Regions from separate parts of the Homo sapiens genome. Here regions 1, 2 and 4 are each linked to region 3. Evidence: promoter capture Hi-C in 16 types of primary human blood cells and fetal thymus (Javierre and others, 2016). All regions are on one chromosome and are shown on one strand. The core of a region is centred on a gene start or on the middle of the fragment in contact, and the rest is flanking DNA. Distances in the headings are between cores, read along the strand shown.

Region 1 (6,077 bases), core at 1,092-3,591, 140 kb before region 3:
CCACCTAAGCCTCCTGAGCAGCTGGGACTACAGGCGTGCACCACCACACCCAGCTAATTTTATTTTATTTTATTTTATTGTAGAGATGGGAGTCTCACTATGTTGCCCAGGCTGGTCCTCTAACTCCTGGAGTCAAAGGATCCTCCCACCTCATCCACCCAAAGTGCTAGGATTACAGACATGCACCTTCAAGCTCGGCCTATGACTTAATTTTAAATGTTATAAAAATGTTTCCTTTATTTTTTTCTTCCTGAATCTGTGAAACTTATTGATCTTTCCTGTTGCTCTTGTTTTCGTTTTCTTACGTAGCTTCATGAGCAAATAGCCCCTCTCCCATCCCAACAGCAAACTCTGACCAAAAGGGAAAAAGAGAAATTCTTCCTGACTTAGAGGAAAACCAAACATAAATAAACAAAAAGAAAAGAAAAAAAAAAAGGTGCCTGCCTCACGAGTGAGCACAGAGCAGCCTCATGCACATAAAGCCCCAGCACTGCCCCTGACGCACAGCACATGGCAACATGCAGCCGACTGCCTGCCGGCAACATTTGCATAAAGGTGGCCAAAAGCTCACCATCAGTGTCATTACTCTGGGACCAGGTCCTCCGAGTCTACATTTGACTCAAGTGCGGGTCAGCAAGACACAATCTGCCAACAAAAGGCATGAGGTCCTGGGGACTGCCACCAAAGGCCCAGTATGGACTTGACACCCCAGTTTGCTGGCCTGGCCCCTCCTGATCTCAGGACCCTAGTCATAAAGCCTCTAAGAGCCATCAGGGGTCTCCCAGGACAAAGGAATGGGGGTGCCCTGGAGAACAGTAACTTGTATGGGGTCCCCAGAAGAACACAGCTCAATAGTCCCCAACTTCTGACTCATGTGGTTTCCTAATGTCACCTGGCACCCCAACCCCTTCCTCTGAAGCAAAGATATTTGACCCATGGGGAAGCTCTGTTGAAAGGAATGAAATAAGCTAGAAGTAGGACTATCTGTCTGCAATTCTTGGACCTTGAAAGGTCCTTTGGGTTACCTGGCCCGCTGTCTGCACAGCACTGGCTCCCTGGCCAGCAGGAAGGCTAGCCTCCAGGCTAAGCCCCCCATCTCCGAAGCCTGCGCCCCCATCTGGGAGCTCTGGAGCAAAATCATCCCCTGAGAACATCCCAGAGGAAAGTAGGCAAGCCTTACTGTCAGAGAGAGTTGGGTTCAAACTCCAGCTCTGCCACAGACCCACCGTGTGCTCTGGGACAAGATACTACTGTTCTGAGCCCCCATTTCCTCATCTGCAAAATGGAAATGCACCTAGCTTGCAGAACTGTCTTAAGGAACAAAAAGAAAATGTGTAATGGTAGTACTGAAAGTACCTAATTGTTTTTGATAATAAATGGCCCCTGTTGACCCAGTTTGTGCTTTGCCAACACAGATGTCAGAGGGTCATCATGGCTGACTATGGACTAACTTACATGTCATGCATCAGCTCCATGAAGCTTCTCGACAACTTACAATGCAGGAGCTATTATTGTTCCATTTTACAGATAAGGAAACCGAGGCTGAGGAAGCTTAAACAATGCCTAAGTAACTTGCCCGAGGTCATAAGTTGGTACCTAGCAGCCCCTGGGCCAGCCCCCAACCCCCAGGGTTCCTCCAAGGGTCTCCAGACAGAACAATGCTCACTTGGCACAGCGGACCCAGTTGATATGCTGGCTCAGGGAGAACAGGAATTTCTGGCGATGAGTTGCCCACACTTTGACTGTCTTGTCGTCAGAGGCTGTCACGAAGGACTGGCCATCACTGCAGAAGTGGACACTCCTCACTGTGGCTGTGTGTGCACGAAACACAGTGGACTCACCTTTGCTACAAGGACAGGCATCCAAGAGTAAGGAAACCCATAACAGTGACATGAGAGCCCACAAGCACATCAAAGCTCTCCTACTCCTCAAGCACCCCTCCCAAAGTCAGTCAAGCCCGAGTACCCCAGTCTCCACAAGGGAAAGCCAGAGCCTCTCCTATATGAACAGAGCACCATCTCTAGGCCCCACCCACATGAACACAGCATCAGGTGGCATTTCTTTAGGGATAGATTGGGTAAGCCCAGAACTCCTCTTCCAACCCTGAGGGGAGGGCTCCAACTGCAGCCCCAGCCTCTGATGGCACCTCTTCCAAAGCAGAGTAGAAGTCCCACTGTGACCAGTCCAGAGCCAAGCTAGGGGACCTGGGTGGGGATGGCTCTGGCACCAGGGCCCCAGACTCCAACAAGCCTCCTCAAAGTGTACGACTCACACATTGGGTACCCAGATGCGGACAGTCTTGTCTCGGGAGCCGGAAGCAAGCAGGTGTCCCGAAGGAGAGAAGTTCACACAGGTGACGGCATCCTTGTGGCCAGTGAAGCGGTAGGCGCGTGACTGCGGCTTCATGTGCCAGACCATGAGGCATGAGTCCATGGAGCCACTGGCTGAGGACAGTGGGTGATGCTATGACCTACAGCTCTAACAGGCTTCAAGCCTCCACCAAGACATTGGAGAGGCAGGGGGAGCAACTGGCCCAGCTCCATCTTCCCTGGCATCCACAAACAGACCGTGAGAAGTCTCCCATGGAGCAGAGCACATCTCGAGGTATGGTCTGGAGGTGGAGAGCCTGTGGCCCAGAGTTCTCCAAGGAGCACACCCACATGGGAATAAGACCGAGGCCCTTCCCATGCTAGCCTTGGACTGCAATCCAGAGCTCTGGGAAAACTCATTCCCATGGGGCCCAGGGTCTCCCCCCAGACACATCCTGAGGGCACCAGAGAGCAAGTCCTCCCCAGCTGGGAAGCCAGCCCCTCCCATTGAGAGGGCCCAACTCAGTATGAAGCCTAAAGGAGGTCCCCAAAACTGATCAAAAATCACTTCAGTTCCCTCTTAACCTTTACACATCAGAGGGTCTTGATGACAGGATGAAGGGGCAAGCCTCCTCTGCAGGAACCAGAAAGCGCAGTCATAAAAGCTGTGTACGAAACCTCATGCAACCAAGGAAGGGGGACAGTCAGCTGCAGCATAAGAGCAGTGGGGTCGAGGGGGGTGCCCATCTCTGCTCAACAGCCTTCTCACTGACAAGGCTCTTCAACAAGGTGTGCCTTATTACTGTGGGCAACAGAATCAGTAAAGCTTCAAGGAAAAGGAGTCACTGTTTAGGGCCCACACCAAAAGACAGACCCAAAAGGTGGCTAGGGTGTGCAGAAAAGACCCAGATCCCAGTCCCACCCTCAAAAGCTCTGTGGCCTTAGCAAGGCCCCTAACCTCTCTGACCCTCAGGCTCTGCATGTAAAATGAAGCTCATGAAGCCCAGTGCCCAAAGAGCTGGCAAGCAGAAGCAAGACTAGAAGCAGGTCTAGACAAAGCTGTGCAGTCCTTGTGCTCTGCTTCCCACCCACCACCCCTCCGAGGTAAAAACTTGGCCTGTTCAGCTCATAACCTAGCACCTAGACAGGGTGCCTCTTCTTACCCAGCTGCTTTGTGTTGATACTGAAGTCCACACAGGTAACTGCATCTCGGTGGCCCTTAAAATGCCTTTCCAGCGAGGGGTCCTCCTGAGAGAGAGCCAGGGTCAAATGTGTGAAGCCTGGGTGAGGAAGGGGCTTCCCCAGGGCCAGCACTCTTCCTACAACAGCCGGGGGAGTAGGGTTAAAAATGCTCAAGGCATGATCTTATATAAAGAAAATCCTAAGGAATCCACTTAGGATTAGTTTTTACTAGGAATAGTTTTTACTATTTGAATTAATACATCAACTGTGGAAATGCTTCAACAAAAACAAAAAACAAATGAGTTCAGCAAAGTTGCAAGATACAAAATCAAGACACAAAAATCAATTGTCTTTCTGTACACTAGCAATGAATAATCCAAAAAATAAAACTATTTATGATACATAAAAAAAATAGCAATATTTTAAATTAGCCGGGCATGGTGGCAGGCGCCTATAATCCCAGTTACTCAGGAGGCTGACGCAGGAGAATGGTGTGAACCCAGGAGGCGGAGCTTGCAGTGAGCAGAGATTGTGCCACTGCACTCCAGCCTGGGTGACAGAGCGAGACTCCGTCTCAAAAAAAAAAAAAAAAAAAGGAATAATTTAACAAAAGAAGTGCAGGACTTGTACAGTAAAGACGACAAAACATCACTAAGAGAAATGAAAGAAGACTTAAAAAATGGAAAGACATTCCACATTCATGAACAGGAAGACTTACTATTGTTAAGATACAATACTACGATACTCCTCAGATTGATCTACCGATTCCACATAATTCCTATCAAAATCCCAGGTGTCTTTTTTGCAGAAACTGACAAGCTGCTCCCAAGATTCACATGAAAATGCAAGACACCCAGAAAAAAAAAAAAATCTTTAAAAACAAACAAACAAACGAACAAACAAAAAACACAGATACTATAGAAAGTAATTTGGCAGTTCCTCAAAAAGTTAAACATAGGTCAGGTGAAGTGGCTCACACCTGTAATCCCCACATTTTGGGAGGCTGAGGCAGGAGGATCACTTTAAGCCAGGGGTTCAAGACCAACCTGGGCAACACAGCAAGACCCTGACCCTACAAAAAAATTAAAGAATTAGCCACACGTAGTGGCTCATGCCTGTATTCTCAGCTACTCAGGAGGGTGAGGTGGGAGGACTGCTTGAGCACAGGAGTTCAAGGTTGCAGTGAGCTGTGATCACATCACTGCACTCCAGCCTGGGCAACAGAGCAAGACCCTGACTAAAAAAAAGTAGTTAGCCGGGCACAGTGGCTCACGCCTGTAATCCCAGCACTTTAGGAGGCCAAGGCGGGCAGATTACCTGAGGTCAAGAGTTCAAGATCAGCCTGGCCAACATGGTGAAAACCCCTCTCTACTAAAAATACAAAAATTAGCTAGGCGTGGTGGTGGGCGCCTATAGTCCCAGCTATTTGGGAGGCTAAGGCAGGAGAATCGCTTGAACCCAGGAGGAGGAGGTTGTAGTGAGCCGAGATTGCACCAGTGCACTCCAGCCTGGACGACAGAGTGAGACTCCTAATCAAAAAATAAATAAATAAAATAAATATAAATAAATAAAATAAAAAATAAAGTAGTTAAACGTGGTTAGCAAATGACCCAGCAATTCTAGGTAAATACCCCAAAGAGTTGAAAACATGGTTTACACAAAAACTTGTACACAAATGTTCAGAGCAGCATTTTCCTTAATAGCCAACAAGTGATTGAACCCAAATGATCCATCAACACATGACTGAATAAACCAAATGTAGCATATTCATACAACAGAATATTATTCAGCCATAAAACCGACTGAAGTGCTGATGCTTGCTGCAACATGGATGAACCTTGAAAACATGCTAAGTGAAAGAAGTCAAACACCAAAGGCCACATTTTGTCTGATTCCATTCATATGAAAAGTTCAGAATAGTCAAATCTATAGAGACAGAAAGTATTAATATATTAGTTTGCCAAGGGTTGGGAGAAAATGGGGAAAGAGAAGAAATGGTATGACTGTTATTGAGTATGGAGTTTCTTTTTGGGATGATGAAAATATTCTGGAATTAGTGATTACAGTTGCACAACACTGTGAATGTACTAAAAACTACTGAAATGTACACTTTAAAAGGTGAATTCTGTGGTGTATGAATAACTTAATAAAGTTAAAACACCAGAGAGAATACTCCGGAGACTCTCTCCATCCAATAGCAGCTTGTGTCTTAACACTTGAAGGGTTATAATTCAGCCATCCAAACATCTCCCCCTACTCTAAGTATCAGAAACCTCAAAGAAGCATTTTGGGTGCTCCAGGAAGCCCAAAGGCTCCTCCTGGGAAAGGATGTCCTTGGGGCACAGCAAAGCCACTGCCACCCTACAGAGCAGTAACCAGAACAAAGGCCCTATGGCCTTGTGCCCAGCTCCACCCCTAACGCACCTGTCAGAGTCTCCTTTCAACAACAGAGGGAGGAGCAGCTGGGGGAGGGTCCCCAACAGAGCCTTCTGCTCTCACCTAAGCTTCTTGAAAGAACATGCGTAAGAGAGTGTCCGCCCCTAGGCTCAGTGGGCAGAGGCAAGTTCAGGTCCACCCCTGACCAGT
Region 2 (6,167 bases), core at 251-2,750, 240 kb before region 3:
CAAGGGGCCGGAGTCTGTGTCACGGTCACCTGTGGGGGCTCATCTGACCCAGCCAGAGACAATGGGGCCAAGGCCTCTAAGAGTTGCTAATGATAGTCTTTAATGACCATGCCTGGAAAGGGATGACTTCACCCAGGACACACCCTGATGAGAGGAGGCTACAGTCACAGGCAGGCGGCTCCTCCATTGCTATGAGACCTGCATGGGCTTGTCTAGTCAGAGGATGGCAAAGCTGTGTGTGTGTGTGTGTGTGTGTGTGTGTGTGTGTGTGTGTGTGTGTGTGTGTGTGTGTGTGTGTGTGTGTCTGGTCCCTCACAGAGCCAGGGCCTAGTGAAAAGCCTCAGGGCAGCAGGGTGGGGGGCCCAGCTTCTACCTTGCCTCACTCTATGACACCCCTCTGCAAACCTCACCTTCCCCATCAGCACAGGGCTGGGAAGCAGAGTGATTCCCGAGCCTTCCCAGGGCTCTCAGGTAGGCTGGGTCTCAGGAGTCAGGTGAGAGCACTGTGTCCTGGTGGGGCCCAAAGAAAGCAGGGGAAAAGATGTCAAGGATCAGGACCTGAACACCCTCCATCGGGGCACCCAGAGGTTAACATGCTACTGTGCTCCCTACAGAGAAAGCTGGCTCCCATATCAGGCCCTCTGGCTTCTGCCAAGGATCTGGGGGTAGGTGTTGGTGTCCCAGACACATCCATTCTGACACAGAGGGAGGTACAGTGCAGTCATGCTGTTGGCCCAGGTGCACAGCACATGGGCAGTAGCAGGGAGGGGCAGGCTCCAGTGCAGGCTTGCCACCTACCCCCACCCTGGTCCATTCATGAGGAATGACTTTCCTCTGGGGAGGGGCCCTGTGGGGGTGGCAGGCAGAGCAGGGCCCTCTCCTGAGGGCTCCCTCTGCCCCCAGGCTCAGAGCGGGACCACCCTAGGGAAATGTTCATCTCTCCTGCGGTCTTGTCGGAACCCCTTCAAGGTCATCGCTCCACAGCACTCCAAGTGCTTCCTCGTATCCAGCCTTAGTCAGTCCTCATGTTGCACTTGATTCATTTATCAGAGGACAAGTTGAGGGCCCCATTATCCTGCCACCCAGTGTGACATCACCGAGCTTCCCTCGGGCATGTTCCCTCCCTGGGACTGCCCAGCCGGCACAGGAAATGGCTGCTGGATGAATGTGCAAGTGAGTAAGTGTCTTGGATCCTCCTCCCATGGGAACACTAAGCGGCTAAGGAGTGGACCAGCTCCCCGGGGTCCAGGCTGAAACGGAGGCAGAAACAGGGACCAAGGAGGCAAACAGGCTCAAGAGAGCAACAGGACTGGGGACAGAGATAAAGCAGGTGCACCCCCAGAGAGCCAAGTGTCCAAGAGCTCAGGACGGCTGCGCTGAGGGCCTCAGCCACAGATGGCCTGAAGCAAGCAGGGCCCGCTGGGGAGAGCATGGCAGAAACGGGGTGGGATAGGAGGAGCTCAGGACACGGGGCCATGAGATGGGAGCCCAAAACCCAGGGGTGGGGGACCACAGTCCAGTAAGCGTGGCCCGGCCCAAGGTCACAGAGCAAGGACCCAGGGCCCCAGCCTCTCAGCCATGACCTGGCCCTCTGTCCCCCAGCAGGGAACCTTAGCCAGGCCCAGTGCTGAGGTAGGAATTTCTACAGGTAAGGAGGACACAGACGGTCAGAGAGACCACTGGCCCCAGAGTGCACAGGGGTAAGTGGCGGGGCTGGCCCTCTTCAGGCAGTCCCAGTCCTCCGTCTGAAGAGCCGGCTCAGGAGGCGGCTGCCACTCCCACCCCCACCCCGTCCTGTGCTTGGGCACGCTGGCACTGCCAGGCACTTACTCGGTTTGTCGAGGGCCCAGCCCCCAGCCCAGCACCCGCGGGCTTCCCCAGGCCTGGGCGAGGGCAGCAGGAGGGAACAAAGGCCCAGTCTCTGCCTGCTCAGGCCCCCACCCCCTTTGCCTGCCCCTGGCACAGAAGGAACAGGGCCCTGAGGGAGCCCAGGAGCAACAGCAGCACCGCCCCCTTGTCGAGGATGCAGCAAGAAGCCCCCTCCTACCCACAGAGGCCTGCCGGCTGAGCGGCAGGATTCTTCCACGCTCCACATGGGAGTGTTAGGGGGTAGAACTGAGGGACTGCAGTCACACAGCTGAGATTTGCACCCAGGCCCCACAGTGGGCAGAACCTGCCCTCTACCCCTCTCCACAGGCTGCGCATGATGGTTGTGACTGCGTTCTGGTGCAGACTAACTGAAGAGCAGAGATGAGGGAGAGAAGAGAAGGAGAGCCTTGGGCACCCCAACAGAGCAAGTCCCAGGCTGAGCCGCCCTCACCCTCTCGGCCCTACCTACCTACCTTCCACCTGGATCCAGCTCAGTGCTGATCACACAGTTTGCTGAAGGGATAGAGCTGGGGAATGTCAGAAATGGGGAAACTGAGTCAGCTTCCAGGCCTCTTAAGTCCTTGACTGGGGCTCACCTGATCCAGCCAGAGGCAAGGGAGACCTAAGCCACTCTGGAGCCTCCATTTCCTGATCTGTAACTCGGGGCTTGTTGTCCACTGGGGCCTCACTTCCCCAGACTGTGGCCCCCATCCTTCTCCAGACCTCCTCCCTGCTCTAGCCCAGGGCCTCGCTTAGACCCCCACCCCCAGGGGAGCCTTGACAGAGGCCCATGCCCACCCTTCCTTGTACACGCCTGAGCACGGCTGATTCCTCCCTGTGAGCCCAGGCCAATAATGTGCTCTTCATGCCACAAAGCTGAAAAGCACTCAGGAACCAGGTGCAATCGGCCTAAGGGACCTGTCCAAGGCCACCCAGCCCTTAAGAAGCAAAGAAGGGCTGACCTGTCACTACCCACTGATATCTCAGGACCTGCAGGGGCAGGGTTAAATGCACATTCCCCTCTCACCCACACGGCAGCAAGAGAAAGAGTTAGGGTCCTGGGGGCTGCAATCTGGGCAATGCCTAAGCAGACAGCCTCAGACAATGAAGGGCGAGTCAGGACTCAGTTGTGTCAACTTGGTATATACAACCTCTCCAAGCCTTGATTTCAGCAGAAGCCCACAGAGAAAGCCCTGATGCCTCTGCCTGCCAGTGCCTAAGGGCTGGGGAAATGCCACCTGCCCCAGCTTCATCCAGAAACTGTGGCTGCTCCCTCCCATCTGCGGGGCACCTTGATTAGTCTAAGTGGCCAGCAGACCCCAAGCAGAACCAGGCCAGTGCCTCACACAGAGCAGGCACTAGGATGCCTGTCGACAGCACTCCTTCCCCTCCTTCCCAGGCCCCAAGCCCTTATCGGACACGACTCATTTTAAAGAAAAAATAATATTTATTTGCAATATAAACAAAGTCCCGTTGTTGGTTCGGGATATATATATATATGTATGTGTGTGTATATATATACGTAGGGTCACAAATCTTCCTTCATAAGATCATAAAGCAAAACTGGCCACCTTCTGGCATACCCTCATTTACACAAATCTGGTACATCTTTCTGGGTTTTCTTTTTAAAAATAAAAGAGAGAAAAAGAGAACCATGTACAGCATGGAAGCTTGTTGTCAATTTCTCGACTGTGGCAAGATTTTAATCTGCTGCGCTAAAGAATCCCTGAAAGCCACCCCCGTGAGGTAAGAAGCAGTGGGGCAGAGTTTTTCTGTGGCCTCACTCACATGCTGAGTGCTGCTCCGTCAGGGACCCTGGCCTGACTCCTCTGCCTGCCCCAGGCCCCCATGCAGTCCTGACACCTGGTGGAACTGAGGCTGGAGAAGGAACAAAACTGGAGGAAGATAACGGAATCCGTGGCTTCGTTCTGTGGAGGCAGGGGGAAGTGAACAGAGCCTTACCCCCCTTCTGCTGGTCCATCCTTGCCCCACTTGCCCCCGCCCTAGGGTTGAAATGGGTGCAAGTCTCCTGGCAGTAGAAGGCATGGGCAAGATGAGGGCAGGGCAAGCTTCCAAGGGGACAAGGGGGCTGGGAGTGGCCAGACCAAAGCAACAGCTAGGGAGAAGGAAGAACCTGGAGGTCGGGCTGGGCCCCACCACCTAATGTCTCCCCAGCCACTGGGCCTCCACTCCCAGTTACAACAAGAGAGAGGAAAGGAAGAGAGAGGGAGGGGGGGAGAGAGAAAGAAAGAGAGAGAGAGGGAGAGAGAGAAAGAGAGAGAGGGAGAGGAAGAGAGAGAGACAGACAGACAGACAGAAGTAGTGGCTAAGTATATAAAAGGGCTCAGAGCCCAGGCCTTCTTAGGGGCTGACCCCAGAGGGCTAATGCTACTGCCTGGCAGCCCCCTGCGGCCCACCTCCTGGGGGACAGCGGCAGGGCCCCAGGGTCCCCACCTTCTGCCTCAGGGAGGTCTGCAGGGACCACCAGAGGGATGGATGAGACGGCAGAAAATGCAAAGACCACCATCCAGCCCACCAATCACAACTTGCAGCAGTCATCACAGGCGAATGCAGAGCTAAGTCAGACTGGGCCAAGGGTGGGAGGCGGCACGACTGGGGGTCCCAATACCTGAAGAGCAGTAAGCCACCCCTTCAAGAAGGGCCCGCTGAGGAAACAGAGGCTTCACACATGTGCAAAACGCATTTGGTCAAGGTCAACATGGCGTCTGTCTTTTCCATTAAAAAACAAAAACAAAAACAAACACGATACTTGCTTTTTGAAATTGAACGAAAAACAAAACTGAACATTTCTCTCTCTTGCAGGATCAGGAAAGGGATGAAATACTGGGTTATACAATCCACTGTTGCATGTAGCCTGAAAATAACACTTTTTGTTAAAAAAAAAAAAAAAAAAGAAAAATCAAGAAGAGCTCAAACACTCTTTGTGCTCCAGGGAGCTTGGATTTACCTGCCAAAAGTAAAAAGTAAACTCAGGTCCGTGGATGTGTCTTTAAAAAACAGCCAAACTGGCTGGGCTGTCAGCAGAAAGGAGCGTCCTGGACAGGATGAGGCCCTGGTGGACGCCCAAAGCCACGTGTCCAAGAGCCGAGGCCTCTCCAGCAAGCCCTGCAGTGGGAGACCTTGCCTGCGGGCCCTGCCCCCAAGGATGGTGAGGGGCGCTCCGACACCGATCAGCCTGGGCCTCTGGGCACAGGTGACATCTGGGGGTTCCTCAGGCCAGAGGTGGCGGGCTTGGGCTCTCCCACCTAGCCCTGTGGAGAGCCGAGCAGGGGCCTGGTGCCATGCCCCCCGTGCACCAGGCCTCACGTGGACTCCAGCGTATTGAGTGGGAACAGGTTGTGGTTGGTGGGCGTGGAAAAGTAGAGCTGCTCACTCGACGCGTGGTTGTCGCACGGGCTGCTTAGCCCCAGCGTCCGCTCAAAGTCCAGCAGCTGCCCCATGAAGTTGAAGTTGGGCGAGATGTTGGACTTTTTCCTCTTGACAAAGTCGTAGGCGTCGTTGAGTGACAGGTTCATCTTCTGCATCAGATAGGCCACAGTGACCGTCACTGAGCGGCTGATGCCTGCCAGGCAGTGCACCAGGACACCACACTTCTTGGAGCGGGCTTCGTCTGAAACACATTGGCATGGGTCAGGGAGGTGCCTCCTTCAAGGAGCCTTCCCACATGGGTGGGCAGGTGGGGCTGGGGCACAGAGGGCAGCATGGTGGCTGGCTGGTCTTGCCCGACCCCTGAGGGACCTGGCCAAGCCCAGTGTGGGTAGGGCAGCAACTTGGAATAGAGGTCAACAGCACTGCTGTGGAGAGGGCTCTGCACACTTTAGCCCCAAGGCACTGGACACCCGTGTCTGTTTCCTCATCTATAAAATGGGCCTATTTATGCACAGTGGTCTCATAAGGACCTGAGCCAAGTGAGGGGTCAACAAACATGAACTACTGTAATGCCTGTGATCATGGCTAGTCCTACCACTGCCATGTGCGTTAACGACTGCTGTCACGGGTGTCACCTGCATCCTCTTGGGTCATCTGCACCATGGCCAGTAAGCCCATTTTATCAACGAGGAAACAGACACAGAGACAAAGTGGCAAGCCCAAGGCCACACAGAAGCTCCTCCTAGCTCAGCGCCCGCTGCTGCCAGGCCATGACCTGGGACTGGGGGCTGGGCTGGTTCTCTTGGAGCCGCTCCCATGGGTTGTCCCTGAGAGTCTTCTAGGAAAGTGGCCTGAGGGAGGCTCCTCTGGAAGGAAGTAGGTGGCCTGGCCCTGCATTTCGCTCTGCC
Region 3 (6,440 bases), core at 3,921-6,420:
CAGATAAGGGCCAGGCACAGTGGCTCATGCCTGTAATCCCAGCACTCTGGGAGGCCAAGGTGGGTGAATCACTTGAGGTCAGGAGTTCAAGACCAGCTTGGGCAGCATGGTGAAACTGCGACTCCACCAAAAAATACAAAAATTAGCCAAGCATGGTGGTGTGCGCCTGTAGTCCCAGCTACTCGGGAGGCTGAGGCAGGAGAATTGCTTGAACCCGGGAGGCGGAGGTTGCAGAGCCGAGATCGCACTCCAGCCTGGGCGATAGAGTGAAACTCTGTCTCAAAAAAAAAAGAAAGAAAAAAAATAAATATTACAAGGATGAAGTAAGCCATTTTTATTTAGACAGAATTTAAGTGTGTGCATGGAAAATCTTGTGGGATATACATGAATATGACCAGAAATAATAAATAAATTTAGTTACTAATGTATGTCCACTTCTACTGGAATTCCTCAGAGAGGTCTTGAGACTCCAGGACCGGGGGCCTGGATAAAAAGAAAGTATCTTTCCCTGGCAGCAGGACTAACTACCCAATTTGTAGGGCCCCTTGTTAAAAAATTGCTAAGAATCTCAAGATGACAACAACAGAATATTAAATGAAGTGCAGGGTCCTTCTGACTATACAAGTCACACACCCATGAAGCTGGCTCAACCCAGGACTAGTACAGCAACAACACTGAGCCTTTCTACATGCACTGGAAACATACTGTGATGAAGACTCTGAAGTTCTGAGAGGTTAACTTTCTCAGGGTCACTTAACCAATAAGCACTGAAGTCTGGATTCACACTCTGCTTCAGCACTGGAAAGCTTGTGTTCTGTTTCCAGGGCAAAGGACAAGAAATCATTCACATTTAACAAAGACCACTGTCGGTAAATAATACCTTCTTAGTCTGGAAGGAAAGGATGGAATCTTCCCAGATAAGCCTTGACTGCTCAGAGCCAGAAGGAACTGCCTAGAGTCTCAGGGCCAAGGCCACTGTCTCTAAAACTACAGCACTGTTTCCTAAGGCTTAAAAACTCCCAAACAATCCAACATACACAGCTTTAGTGGCCTCTCATCAGTGCTTGCCTAGAGTCATGCTGAACTGCTTCCTAGTGTTTTGTTTTACTCTCCCCAACTCCTCCTTCCAAGAAAAATAGCTTTAAGATGTTTTATTTTTTTTAATTTTTTTTTTTTTTTTTTTGAGACAGAGTCTCACTCTGTCACCCAGGCTGGAGTGCAGTGGTGTGATCTCAGCTCACTGCAACCTCTACCTCCTGGGTTCAAGCAATTCTCCCACCTCAGCCTTCCGAGTAGCTGGAATTATAGGTGCGTGACACCACATCCGGCTAATTTGTTGTTGTTGTTGTTGTTGTTGTTGTTGTTGTATTTTTAGTAGAAACGGGGTTTTGCCATGTTGGCCAGGCTGGTCTCAAACTCCTGACCTCAAGTGATCCGCTCACCTCGGCCTCCCAGTTTTAAGGTGTTGTACAGCCCTTACATAGGACACAGCTCCACTTTACCCTGCCTCCAACACAGCTGACCTTCCCTCCCACGGAGTAACCCTGCAAGCCCAGGCTGGGCACAGTGGCTTACACCTATAGTCCCAGCACTTTCAGAGGCTGGGGCAGGAGAACTGCTTGAGCCCAGGAGTTTGAGACCAGCTTGGGCAACAAAGCAAGACCCTGTCTCCACAAAAAATTAGCCAGGCATGGTGGTGTGCACCTGTAGTCCCAGCTACTTGAGAGGCTGAGGCAGGAGGATCGCTACAACCCAGGAGGTTGAGGCTATAGTGAGCTGTAATCACCACTGTCCTCCAGCCTGGGCGACAGTGTGAGACTTTGTCTCCTAAAAACAAAAAAAAATTAAAATTAAAAGTACCACTTCTTACCTATCCCAGCAGCTACAGCATTCGGCCCACACAGAAGGCACTCAGGAAATGTCTTGAATTATGTCTGAGGAAGGAATAAATGCATGGAAGGAATATAGCTGACTATAACCAAGAAAAAACAATAAAATTTTCAGTATTTACAACCTCTCCCACATTAAAGAGGGCAATTCCACCTACGGATGCCTTTGTTTTGATGATGTGGTGGGAAATCATTTAGGAGAAGGAATACAAAGTCTCATATTTTAAAAGGAAAAATCCAGGGAGAAGGACGGGTGTGGTGGCTCACACCTGTAATCCCAGCACTTTGGGAGACAGAGGCAGGAAGATGGTTTGAGCGCAGAAGTTTGAGACCAGCCTGGCCAACATGGCAAAACCACTTCTCTACAAAAAATACAAAAAATTAGCTGGGTGTGGTGGTGCACGTCTGTGGTCCCAGCTACTTGGGAGACTGAAGTGGGAGGATCACTTGAGCCTCGGAGGTGGAGGTTGCAATAATCCAAGATGATGGCACTGAACTCCAACCTGGGTGACAGAGTGAGATCCTGTCTCAAATAAAAATATATGTATATATAAGAAAAAGAAAAATCCAGGGAGAGAGCTGGAAGTGGGGGCCAGAGGAAGGGAAAGGTTCATGACAAGAGCACAGCATGGTTTGGAGACCTAAGGAGAGATGTAGCAACTGCCAAAGGGAGCAGGTAGGGGGTGTGAAAAGAAAATAAAATTTTAGGACATTCCCAATTTATAATGTGAAGGAGAAAAGTGAAGCCCTGGAAACTGAGCAGGCATTGCTTTTTTTTTTTCTTCTCTGATGCATGACTGCTGCTTCCTGATCTTTGTATTGAAATGTTATACATTAACCAGGCTCCCTATTCTTCATTCAGACTTAGACTAGATGATGTGGGAGATAGAGACCCTTGTGATTGTTGTCTCTTTACAATAGAATGTTAAGCAAACTCCTTCCAGTATAATCAATAGTAGCCAACCAAATCTTGTATTTATGTTAGCCTTTTTTTGGAAAATGTTGTAATTCTGGTCAGCACTCCTGTTTTTGCCTATATAAACAATCTTTTTTTTTTTTTTTTTTGAGACGGAGTCTCGCTTTGTCACCCAGGCTGGAGGGCAGTCACGCAATCTCGGTTCACTGCAACCTCCCAGGTTCAAGCAATCCTCCTGCCTCAGCCCCACCAGTAGCTGGGATTACAGGCACACACCACCATGCCTAGCTAATTTTTGTATTTTTAGTAGAGACGGGGTTTCGCCATGTTGGCCAGGCTGGTCTTGAACTCCTGACCTCAGGTGATCCACCTGCCTCAGCCTCCCAAAGTGCTAGGATTACAGGTGTGAGCCACTGTGCCCGGCCCATGCCCAGCTAATTTTTGTATTTTTTAGTAGAGATGGGGTTTCACCATATTGGTTAGGCCAGTCTCGAACTCCTGACCTCAAATGATCCCACCTGCCTCAGCCTCCCAAAGTACTGGGATTGCAGGCATGAGCCACTGCACCTGTCCCAAAAACACATTTCTAATGTCAACCTAAAAATCATCAAAAGGTTCGATATCCAGTTAAAAGAATTTATTCAAGCATAAAGTGTGAGGGCAGCCATCCAGGGAAACACAGACACCAAGCAGTGGCAATTAGTGTTCTCCAGCATGGGGAAAGATGAAGGTTGTTTATATAGGCCGGGCGCCTGTAATTGTTTATACGCCTGTAATCCCTGCACTTTGGGAGGCCAAGGGCGGTGGATCACAAGGTCAGGAGTTCGAGACCAGCCTGGCCAACATGGTGAAACTCTGTCTCTACTAAAAATACAAAAATTAGCTGGACGTGGTGGCGGGCGCCTGTAGTCCCAGCTATTCGGGAGGCTGAGGCAGGAGAATTGCTTGAACCTGGGAGGCGGAGGTTGCAGTGAGCCGACATCGTGCCCAGGCTGCAGTGCAGTGGCCGTGAGCTGAGACTGTGCCATTGCAGTCCAGCCTGGGTGACAGAGCAAGACTCCACCTCAAAACCAAGAGAAAGAAATGTGTTTTTGTTTGTTGGTTTTTTTTTGAGACAGGGGCCCAGGTTGGAGTGCAGTGGCGTGATCAAGGTTCACTGCAGCCTCTACCTCCCAGGCTCAGGTGATCCTCCCATCTCAGCCTCCTGAGTAGCTGGGACTACAGGAGCATGCCACCACACCTGGCTCTTTTTTTTTTGGTAGAGATAAGTTTCGCCATGTTCCCAGGCTGGTCTCGCATTCCTAGGCTCAAGCGATCCGCCCACCTTGGCCTCCCCAATGTTGGGATTACAGGCGTGAAACACTGCGCCCTGCCAAGAAACATGTTTCAATAAAATTGTTAGGAAATCAAGTGTGTGATTTGTGATGCAACTCTCTCCTCTATCTCCCTAAGAAAACATCAGTAAAAACAGTGAACTGTTTTGTATTTTTGGAGTCTGATCAGGACTCATCTTATGAATGTGGGAAGGCATCCAGCCAACACAGGGTAGGCCCCGGATGAGAGTAGGGACAGCGAGGTAGGCCCAGAGTCATTAGCGTTTACATGCCGCTTATGTGCTTGAGGATCGCAGAATGGAACTCTTGCTAAGCCAGAGCTGTATTTGGTGGCCCATGGTGGGAGAGGGAAGAACAATAATAAGTTGTGGAATAAAAGCCATGGAGAGGAGCGGGAATTACTTAATCTGGCTCCAGAAGGGGTGAGTTGTGGGGAAGTAGTGATTCTCAGTTCGTTTGCTCAGCCCAGTCAGTGCCTGACACTCAGGGTGCATCTGCTGACTGACCGTACAGGATAAAGGAAGGGAGAGGCCGGGTGCGGCGGCTGAAGTCTGTAATCCCATCACTTTCGGAGGCTGAGGTGGGTGGATCGCTTGAGGTTAGGCGTTCGAGACCAGCCTGGGCAACATGGCGAAAGCCCGTCTCTACTAAAAAATACAAAAATTAGCCCGGAGTGGTGGCACATGCCTGTAATCCCAGCTACTCGGGAGGCTGAGGCATGAGAATCGCTTGAATCCGGGAGGCGGAGGTTGCATTGGGCCGAAACCGCGACTCTGCACTCCAGTCTGGGCGACAGAATGAGACCCCGTCTCAAAAAAAAAATCGGCAATCGGTGAGGCGGGGATTATTACCCTCAATGTAGAGATTTAAAAAATGAGGACTGAAGGTGACTCCTTCCAGGTCTGTCAGTGGCCAGCAAAGAGCCAATATGCTAAACTCTCCCCTCCCGGACACCGGCTTCAGCCAGAGCTCGCACCCGCCTGCGCCGCTCCACCCACCCACACTTCCGGCTTCCGCTCCGCCCACCCCCTAGTACTTCCGTTCTCCAGCGCTGGGCACCGCGGCCGGAGCTGTGGGCTGGTAAGTCTGCGCCGCCAGGGCTCGCATGGCCTTCAGAAGCGGTCCCTGGGCTGGGCGATGACGGGTCCTGGTGGCAGCAGGCCCTTCTTTCTCGCATCACCGGGCATTACGCGGCAGCCATTTCCCTCGCTAAGGCCCTACCTTAGGATGACGTCACTTCCGGCCCCCTACTGTCTAGGGAAAGCCGGAAATGGTACCAGCCTTCTTTGATGGCGGGGAGGAGTCAAGACCGGTAGTCTTCCTATTTCCGTTGTTTTGCTCTGGAGCCTCCCGGAGTTTCGGAGAGACCGTGTCTTGGATAGAATTGGAGGACTTAGCAAATAAAAATGCAAAGCGTCCAGTTACATTTTTTTTGAGTTAGAATCTCACTCTGTCACCCAGGCTGGAGTGCAGTGGCGCGATCTCGGCTCACTGCAACCTCCGCCTCCCCTGTTCAAATGATTCTCATGCCTCAGTCTCCCGAGTAGCTGGGATTACGGGCGCCCACCACACCCGGCTAATTTTTGTATTTTTAGAAGAGACGGGGTTTCACCACGTTGGTCAGGCTGGTCTCGAACTCCTGACCTCAGGTGATGCGCCCGCCTCAGCCTTCCAAAGTGCTGGGATTACAGGCGTGAGCCACTGCGCCGGGCCACGTCCAGTTAAATTTGAGTTAAGATAAACGACGAATAATTGTTAAGTCCTAAACATTGTATGCACATACTTATACTTTAAAAATTACTTGTTTATTTGAAATTCAAATTTAACCGGAAGTCCTGTATTTTCTCTGGCAGCCTTAGCATTGAGCGTCCCCCTGTCCTGTGCTCATACCCAGTGGCAAGGCTGGGATCTTCTAGGCTCTTGTCCATCTGGGAAATAGATACAAATTTCATCCAGGCTATAAAGACCGGCTGTCTTAGTTGCTAAGATGCTTTTAGCTCCAAGTCCAATGGGCAAGCTCCAGGGGTCCCCCTGGCCAAAACTGGACCCATTTTCGGAATCCCCATGACGATGCCCTCTGTGTTCCCTTTCACAACAGAAGTCAGGCATGGCTGTCTTTTCTTACCGGAGAGCTGAGAACTAGGCAAGCAAAATGGTCAAAGTCTAGAAGTAACCACCATATTTGGGTGTGGGGTAAACCGGTGTTTGAGATCTGTGTTGCAGTGGACAGTATCAGAGAGCCTGAGGTTGTTAAGGGAAGAGCGTAGTGTTAATCTCACCCCATGTCTCATTTTGCGGATG
Region 4 (5,730 bases), core at 2,622-5,121, 180 kb after region 3:
ATTGGCAGCCCCTGGGACCTGCTTGGCTCCAGGCGATCTGACAGCAGGGAGGATTGCGAAGTACAGATCTGTAGACGGGGCGTGGTTTTCAAAACCATCCGTGGAGGCTCTTCCTAATCTTCAGTTCTTCACAGCTGCCAAGGAAAATGTCATTTAGCTTATGTGGTTGCAAGAGACTGAAGTTGAACTTCAGAGCACACCCACCACCTCTGCCCTCACTTCCAGCCGGAGCCCTGTCCTGCTCTGTGCCTGCCGTGCCCCTCTCCTTGCCCTTTTCCATTCGGCCCTGCACCCTGCCGGTCCCTTAAAGCTGTGGCTCTGTGTGCTCATTTTGCTCCCTTTGCTTTTTGTCCACGGGATACAGGGAGGAGTTATTCTCGTGCTGTATATAAACTGAATTTCAAGCAGATTAAATGAATAAACACATTTTTTAAAGAACCAAAAGAAAATTAAGAGAATATTTTTATAATTGTGGAGTGAGAGAAGAGGCCCAAGAAGTCATGAAGGATAAAAAAAAATTAGAGGTTAAACAATGTAAAAATGAAAAACCTCTGTCAGAAAAAGCACCATGAACAAAGGTAAAAGGTATATGCAGACTGGGAGGAAATGTTTACAACATATAAACCACCATTAAAATGGCCACAGTGTATAAAAGATAAGAAAGAGACAAACAACCCAAGAGAAAAACAGGAAAAGGACACCCTGTCTCCTGTGTCTTTAGAATCCCATAAACACGTGAATTGCTTGTCCTGGTGGAAGCGATGTTCCCAATGTTCCTGTGAGTTATGAGGATTATGCAGCCTCCATCTGGAGCTGTTTACGAAAAGGCCTGTTGGCTGCCATCTGTCGATGAGTTAAAATTCCTACCTGTGGGATGTGGGGGTGGGGGGCTGAGGGCCTTGGGGGCACTGCCAACCCCACAGTTATTACACTGAACTGCTGAGGCAACGGGTTTCATATGCAGAGGCCCAAGGCCAAGGGCTTGAGTGTGGCTTTGCTGGTTTTTAGCCATGTAAAATTGAGGGTGTCGGCGCTTGTCCACCTCAGGTTGTTCATTTGTGAAACGGAGCTCAAGATAGAAGCTTCCGTTGCTGGGTGCAGTGGTTCACACCTGCAATCCCAACAACTTGGGAGGCCGAGGTGGGGGGATCTCTTGAGGCCAGAAGTTCAAGACCACCCTGGGCAACATAGTGAGACCCTGTCTCTACAAAATATTTTCTTAAAAATTAGTTGGTTGGCTAGGGGCAGTGGCTCATGCCTGTAATCCTGGCACTTTGGGTGGCTGAGGCAGGGTGGATAACTTGAGGACAGGAGTTTGAGATCAGCCTGGCCAACATGGTGAAACCCTGTCTCTACTAAAAATGCAGGAATTAGCTGGGCATCTTGGCACATGCCTGTACTACCAACTACTTGGGAGGCTGAGGCAGGAGAATCTCTTGAACCTGGGAGGCAGAGGTGGCGGTGAGCCGAGATTACACCACTGCACTCTAGCCTGGGCAACAGAGCAAGACTCCGTCTCAAAAAAGAAAAAAAAAAAAAAAAGCAGGTTGTGCTGATGCACACCTATAGTCCCAGCTACTTGGGAGGTTGAGGCAGGAGGATTACTTGGGCCCAGGAGTTCCAAGCTGCAGTGAGCTATGGTCATACCATTGCACTCCAGCCTGAGTGACAGAGCAAGACCCTGTCTCTATTTAAAAAAAAAAAAAAAAAAAGCAGTTATCGCTTTTCCTCTTGTAGGATGTTGGGAGGATTCAGGAGCCTTCAGTGGCTCAGGGCATGACCCAGTATGAATTAGGATCCAAGCGTGTTGTTTGTATGACTGGGGGCTTGGCCTTGTCCTGCCCTTCATCACATCATTTAAAAAGGAAATCCTTCCCGCTTCTTTCTTGGGACCCTGGGGCTGAGTGTTACTGTTGTGAATCTGGAAGGGATGAACACAAGAAGAAAACAAGTGTTCACTCTTTTCCTGAGACACATTTGAAACGTGAGAGGAAGTGGAAATGGTCATTCCCAGGGAGGGTTAGCTCTGGGTGGTCCTTCATCCCACCAGGGTGATAAGAGCCTCTCTTCCAGAAAAAACAGGACTTTTCTCTCTGCCACACCCTCTCCTAGGAACACCCAGAGCCAGTTTTGGGAGCTGCTGGCTTCCCAAAAGCCCTTAGAGTAATGCAGCTCTGCTGGCCTCCTGGGCTACAGTGCCCTTGGCCCTATGGACTGGAGTCGCAGCATTAGGCTGATTTCCCTTCTGCTTTGGAGGAGACATTTCAGGTATCCACATAACTAGAATACTTAGTTTCCCTTTCTAAGCTTCTTGCTTCATTGTAGGTTTATGCCCTCCTTTCTTTAGTTTAACTTCCTAGAGAGATGGCACTGGCACAACAGAGGGGATAGATAGCGGGGAATGTGACCCCAGGGACTGGGGTCAGGTGGACTTTCTAAGGGCAAATTTTGTGTTCTCTGCAGGAGATAAATGGCATCACCGCGGCACTGGCTGAAGAGCTCTTTGAGAAAGGTATGTGGCCACATGTCCCTGAAATACTGAGCATAAGTTGTGTAGTTTTATGAGGCGGCCAGAGGCACAGGATGGCATAGAAGTCACTCTGGAGCCCACCTACCTCCCCTGTAGGTGGCCAGGTCTGAGGAGCTGTGGTCCTTCAGTACTCTTGAGTACCATGTCAGGGGCTCAGCCCAGACTTGGGCTGTGTTCCAAAGCGCTGTGGTGGGTGCTGGAAGGTGGGTAGCACACTGCTCCCTCGCACCTGGTTTGTGCTTACCTGAAAGGGCTCAGATGGCAGATAGAAGCTGACCCTGGGTCCCATCCCTGCCAGAGAGCACAGTTATAGTAGCTCATGTGTGATGAATGCTTCCTGTTTGCATCTTACTGCCTTCCCCCAGGAGCCACAGGTATAGGGAAGGATACGGGGTCAGCGGCCCAGTCACCAGCCTGAGGGCACATGGCTGGGAGGAGTGGAGCGAGGACCAAGCAGCAGTCAGTTGGGCTCAGAACCCATCCTGCTTCCAGGCTCTGCACCACGCTGGCACCATAGGCCTGCGCCTGACCTGGGTGTTTGCATTTCGGAGGTTGCAGCATAGGTGTGTCACCCAGAATGCTGTCCCTCTCCGCAGCCTCACTCTGGCCCAGTGCCTTTGGTCTCGACTCGGCCTCACTCCTCCCTCAGTGGCTCCCCAGCCTCACAGCCCCACAGCCCTGCCCTCCTCTGTCATCACATGTCTAGGGTTGCCCTGTGCCTAGCAGGCACCCAGGAGGGCAGCAGCTCCTGCATGCCCAGGGCGCTGGCTTTGCCCTGACACAGTGGGTGCTTGCCAACTGCTTGTTGACAGAAAAGGTGGAAATCCTGGCTGCACGAGGGCTGGGGCTGCGGCTGGACACTTATCCTTCAGGGCATGGCTCTTGCAGGAGAACAGCTCCTGGGGGCCGGCGAGGTCTTTGCCATTGGACCCCTGCAGCTGTATGCCGTCACGGAGCAGCTGCAGCAGGGAAAGCCCACGTGCGCCAGTGGGGATGCCAAGACCGACCTCGGGCACATCCTGGACTTCACCTGTCGCCTTAAGTACCTTAAGGTAAAGCTGCAGCAGCTCAGTCATGGAGAGCCCCGCAGTCGGTGGGGGTGCAACCTGCGGGGGACTGGCTGGCAGTTTGTGTGAAGGAGACCATGGGGGACTGTTGGTGGAAGGAAGGCCGCCCGGTTATTCTTGGCACTATGCTTCTGGCTGTGGGCACCAGGGGGCGGTCGTGACCCAGTGTCCCGTTAAATTAAGTCCTGGCCTGAGCCTGCTTTGTTGAAGACAGAAGTGGTCAAAGTTGTCTTCAACTTGTCAGCTGCTGCAGCACTCCCCGATGGGCATGCGACACTGTTCCCAATTTAAGCCTTATCTTTGGCTTCAGGTTTCTGGCACAGAAGGACCTTTTGGGACCAGCAACATTCAGGAGCAGCTCCTGCCGTTCGACCTATCAATATTCAAGTCCCTGCATCAGGTGGAGGTAAGGCCCAGCGCTGCACAGCATCCTCTCGCTCCCAACTCAGAGGCTAGAGAGTGTTTGTGATGTTGGGTGTCCTAATTTAATCATAAGGTGCTGTGCTTTCGTGTTTGGCAGTATGTGACAGGTTCTGCGTAGGTGACCAGGCCCTCTGAAGGCGGAGAAAGAGAGGCCTCTCCTGTCCCTGGCTGGTCTGCACACACCTTCCCTGGCGTGAGCTGCAGGGGCGGTTAGCCAGGGTGGAGCACCAGCACCTGGCTCATTCTAGGACTCCTCATAGGGGCAGGGGGCATGTGTACCTCAAGTTCAAGTCCTGGGAAGTCATCCTGGGGGTCAGACAGAACTAAATACAAGTCTGTATTTCCCAAGGCCGATTGGCAAAGAGCTTTGAAGATGCCCTGCCCTCTGGGGCACCCACACAAGAAACACTCTGCATCTGTCACTACTGGACTCTTTGGTTTGCGATGCCAATTTTAGCATTTTTGAAAAGAAAAGTCAGTAATGAATACAAAAAAAGTTTTAAAGCATAATTTTTTGAGCATGGCTTTTGTGTTCTGCCCTGTGGCCCCATGTCTCCTTGATTGAATCTTCCCAACAGCCCCGTGAAGAGGGCACTTTTATTTCCATTTTACAGTTGGGGAAACTGAGGCTTGGGCAGATAAGGAAGTTTGGCCAGGGCCACACAGTTAATGAGCGGAAACCTGGGATTTGAATTCAGCTGAGACTGCCTCCAGAGCCTCTGCTGTGCACTGGGCTGTTCCGTCTACAGTGGTCTAGGGAAACTTGTGGTGTGCCCTGCTGCCGATTGAGGACAGGGAAGTGAAGGGGAAACCCGACCCAGCCCTGCCAAGCAGGCTGAGGCTCTGGATCTGGGTCTTGGGTGTGCTTGGGCAGGTGGCTTGGGGAGTGTGCTTTGACCTGTGGCCTGCCCCTCCTCACCACAAGACAGCTCAGTTCCATGGAGTGGGGGCTGGGTGAACAGGAGGATCCACCCCACTCGCTGTGCTGTGGAGGCCCCTTGTTCTCCCCAGCAGTTTCCATGACCCACACTTTATGTTCACCTGCCAAGCCCCAGGCAGCCCTTACAGAGGAAATGGAATTTGTGGTCCATTGTGAGTCTGAGGGGCCAGGCACCTTTCTTACTAGATACTTCAGGGAATGTTTGGTCGGCACTGACACTGGGAAAAAGAGACACTTTGGTCTTGAGTGGCCTCCCATCTCTGAGGATTTGGGTTGCCTGTCATTGTGCTTTTGTATGGGGGTAGGAAACACCTGCATCTGGGGACTTCTGACGGAGCAAGGATTCTGTTTCTGAGATGCAGCTGTTCTTTGTTCCAGATAAGTCACTGTGATGCTAAGCACATCAGAGGGCTGGTCGCATCGAAGCCCACCTTAGCCACGCTGAGTGTCCGCTTCTCAGCAACCTCGATGAAGGTAAGCTTCACCTATATCCTGCCTGGGGCAATGTCTGTGGATCAGGGTCCTGGGCTGTGGTCTCCACCACTAAGGATGGGTGAGGACACTGCTATGTCTATCAGTATTCAGAGGCTGGACCTTCTGTGGGGTAGGCAGACACTCATGGGGGGCCTCCCAGCACTTGACAGCCCCTGGGACACTTTAGTTCACATCTGCATAAAAAGTTCGTGTTGTTAACAGGACATTTTAAGGAACTTGGCTTCTTTCCCCAAAAAATAAAAAATGTCATTGGTGTTTTTGTGTTGTTTTGTTTT

Evidence for each region. Contacts are between HindIII fragments. The CHiCAGO score rates a contact against its expected background, and 5 or more counts as called.
Region 1: a contact is called between a fragment that was not itself captured here and the fragment with the promoter of GLYCTK in region 3, in 2 of 17 cell types (M2 macrophages and non-activated CD4 T cells). The highest score is 6.3, in M2 macrophages.
Region 2: a fragment that was not itself captured here is called in contact with the fragment with the promoter of GLYCTK in region 3 in 7 of 17 cell types (activated CD4 T cells, total CD4 T cells, non-activated CD4 T cells and 4 more); the score reaches 7.2 in activated CD4 T cells.
Region 4: a fragment that was not itself captured here is called in contact with the fragment with the promoter of GLYCTK in region 3 in 2 of 17 cell types (M2 macrophages and erythroblasts); the score reaches 6.2 in M2 macrophages.

What each region holds. Positions count from the first base shown.
Region 1 is chr3:52,147,544-52,153,620 of GRCh38, forward strand. It overlaps POC1A (POC1 centriolar protein A), which reads right to left. Exons shown (of 11, transcript NM_015426.5): 2 at 3,473-3,557; 3 at 2,273-2,444; 4 at 1,667-1,846. Among named protein-coding and RNA genes, the nearest start is that of POC1A, 3.8 kb to the right of the region's middle. The HindIII fragment of the contact is 1,584 bases long and covers 1,550-3,133 here.
Region 2 is chr3:52,045,623-52,051,789 of GRCh38, forward strand. It overlaps LOC124906238 (a long non-coding RNA gene), which reads left to right and starts at 607. Exons shown (of 2, transcript XR_007095908.1): 1 at 607-1,700; 2 at 2,197-3,336. It overlaps DUSP7 (dual specificity phosphatase 7), which reads right to left. Exons shown (of 3, transcript NM_001947.4): 3 at 3,297-5,500. The coding sequence ends at 5,193. RefSeq lists an enhancer at 698-1,897. The HindIII fragment of the contact is 4,073 bases long and covers 1-3,537 here.
Region 3 is chr3:52,282,658-52,289,097 of GRCh38, forward strand. It overlaps GLYCTK (glycerate kinase), which reads left to right and starts at 5,171. Exons shown (of 5, transcript NM_145262.4): 1 at 5,171-5,219. GLYCTK-AS1 (GLYCTK antisense RNA 1) reads right to left here. Exons shown (of 1, transcript NR_046719.1): 1 at 5,923-6,440. It overlaps LOC107986086 (a long non-coding RNA gene), which reads right to left and starts at 5,363. Exons shown (of 3, transcript XR_001740699.2): 1 at 5,176-5,363; 2 at 1,871-1,934; 3 at 1-274. RefSeq lists enhancers at 4,756-5,497, 4,803-6,002, 4,829-4,938. The HindIII fragment of the contact is 11,873 bases long and covers 805-6,440 here.
Region 4 is chr3:52,468,396-52,474,125 of GRCh38, forward strand. NISCH (nischarin) reads left to right here. Exons shown (of 21, transcript NM_007184.4): 4 at 2,464-2,512; 5 at 3,419-3,582; 6 at 3,908-4,003; 7 at 5,339-5,434. Among named protein-coding and RNA genes, the nearest start is that of NISCH, 16 kb to the left of the region's middle. RefSeq lists an enhancer at 2,839-3,339. The HindIII fragment of the contact is 3,132 bases long and covers 2,306-5,437 here.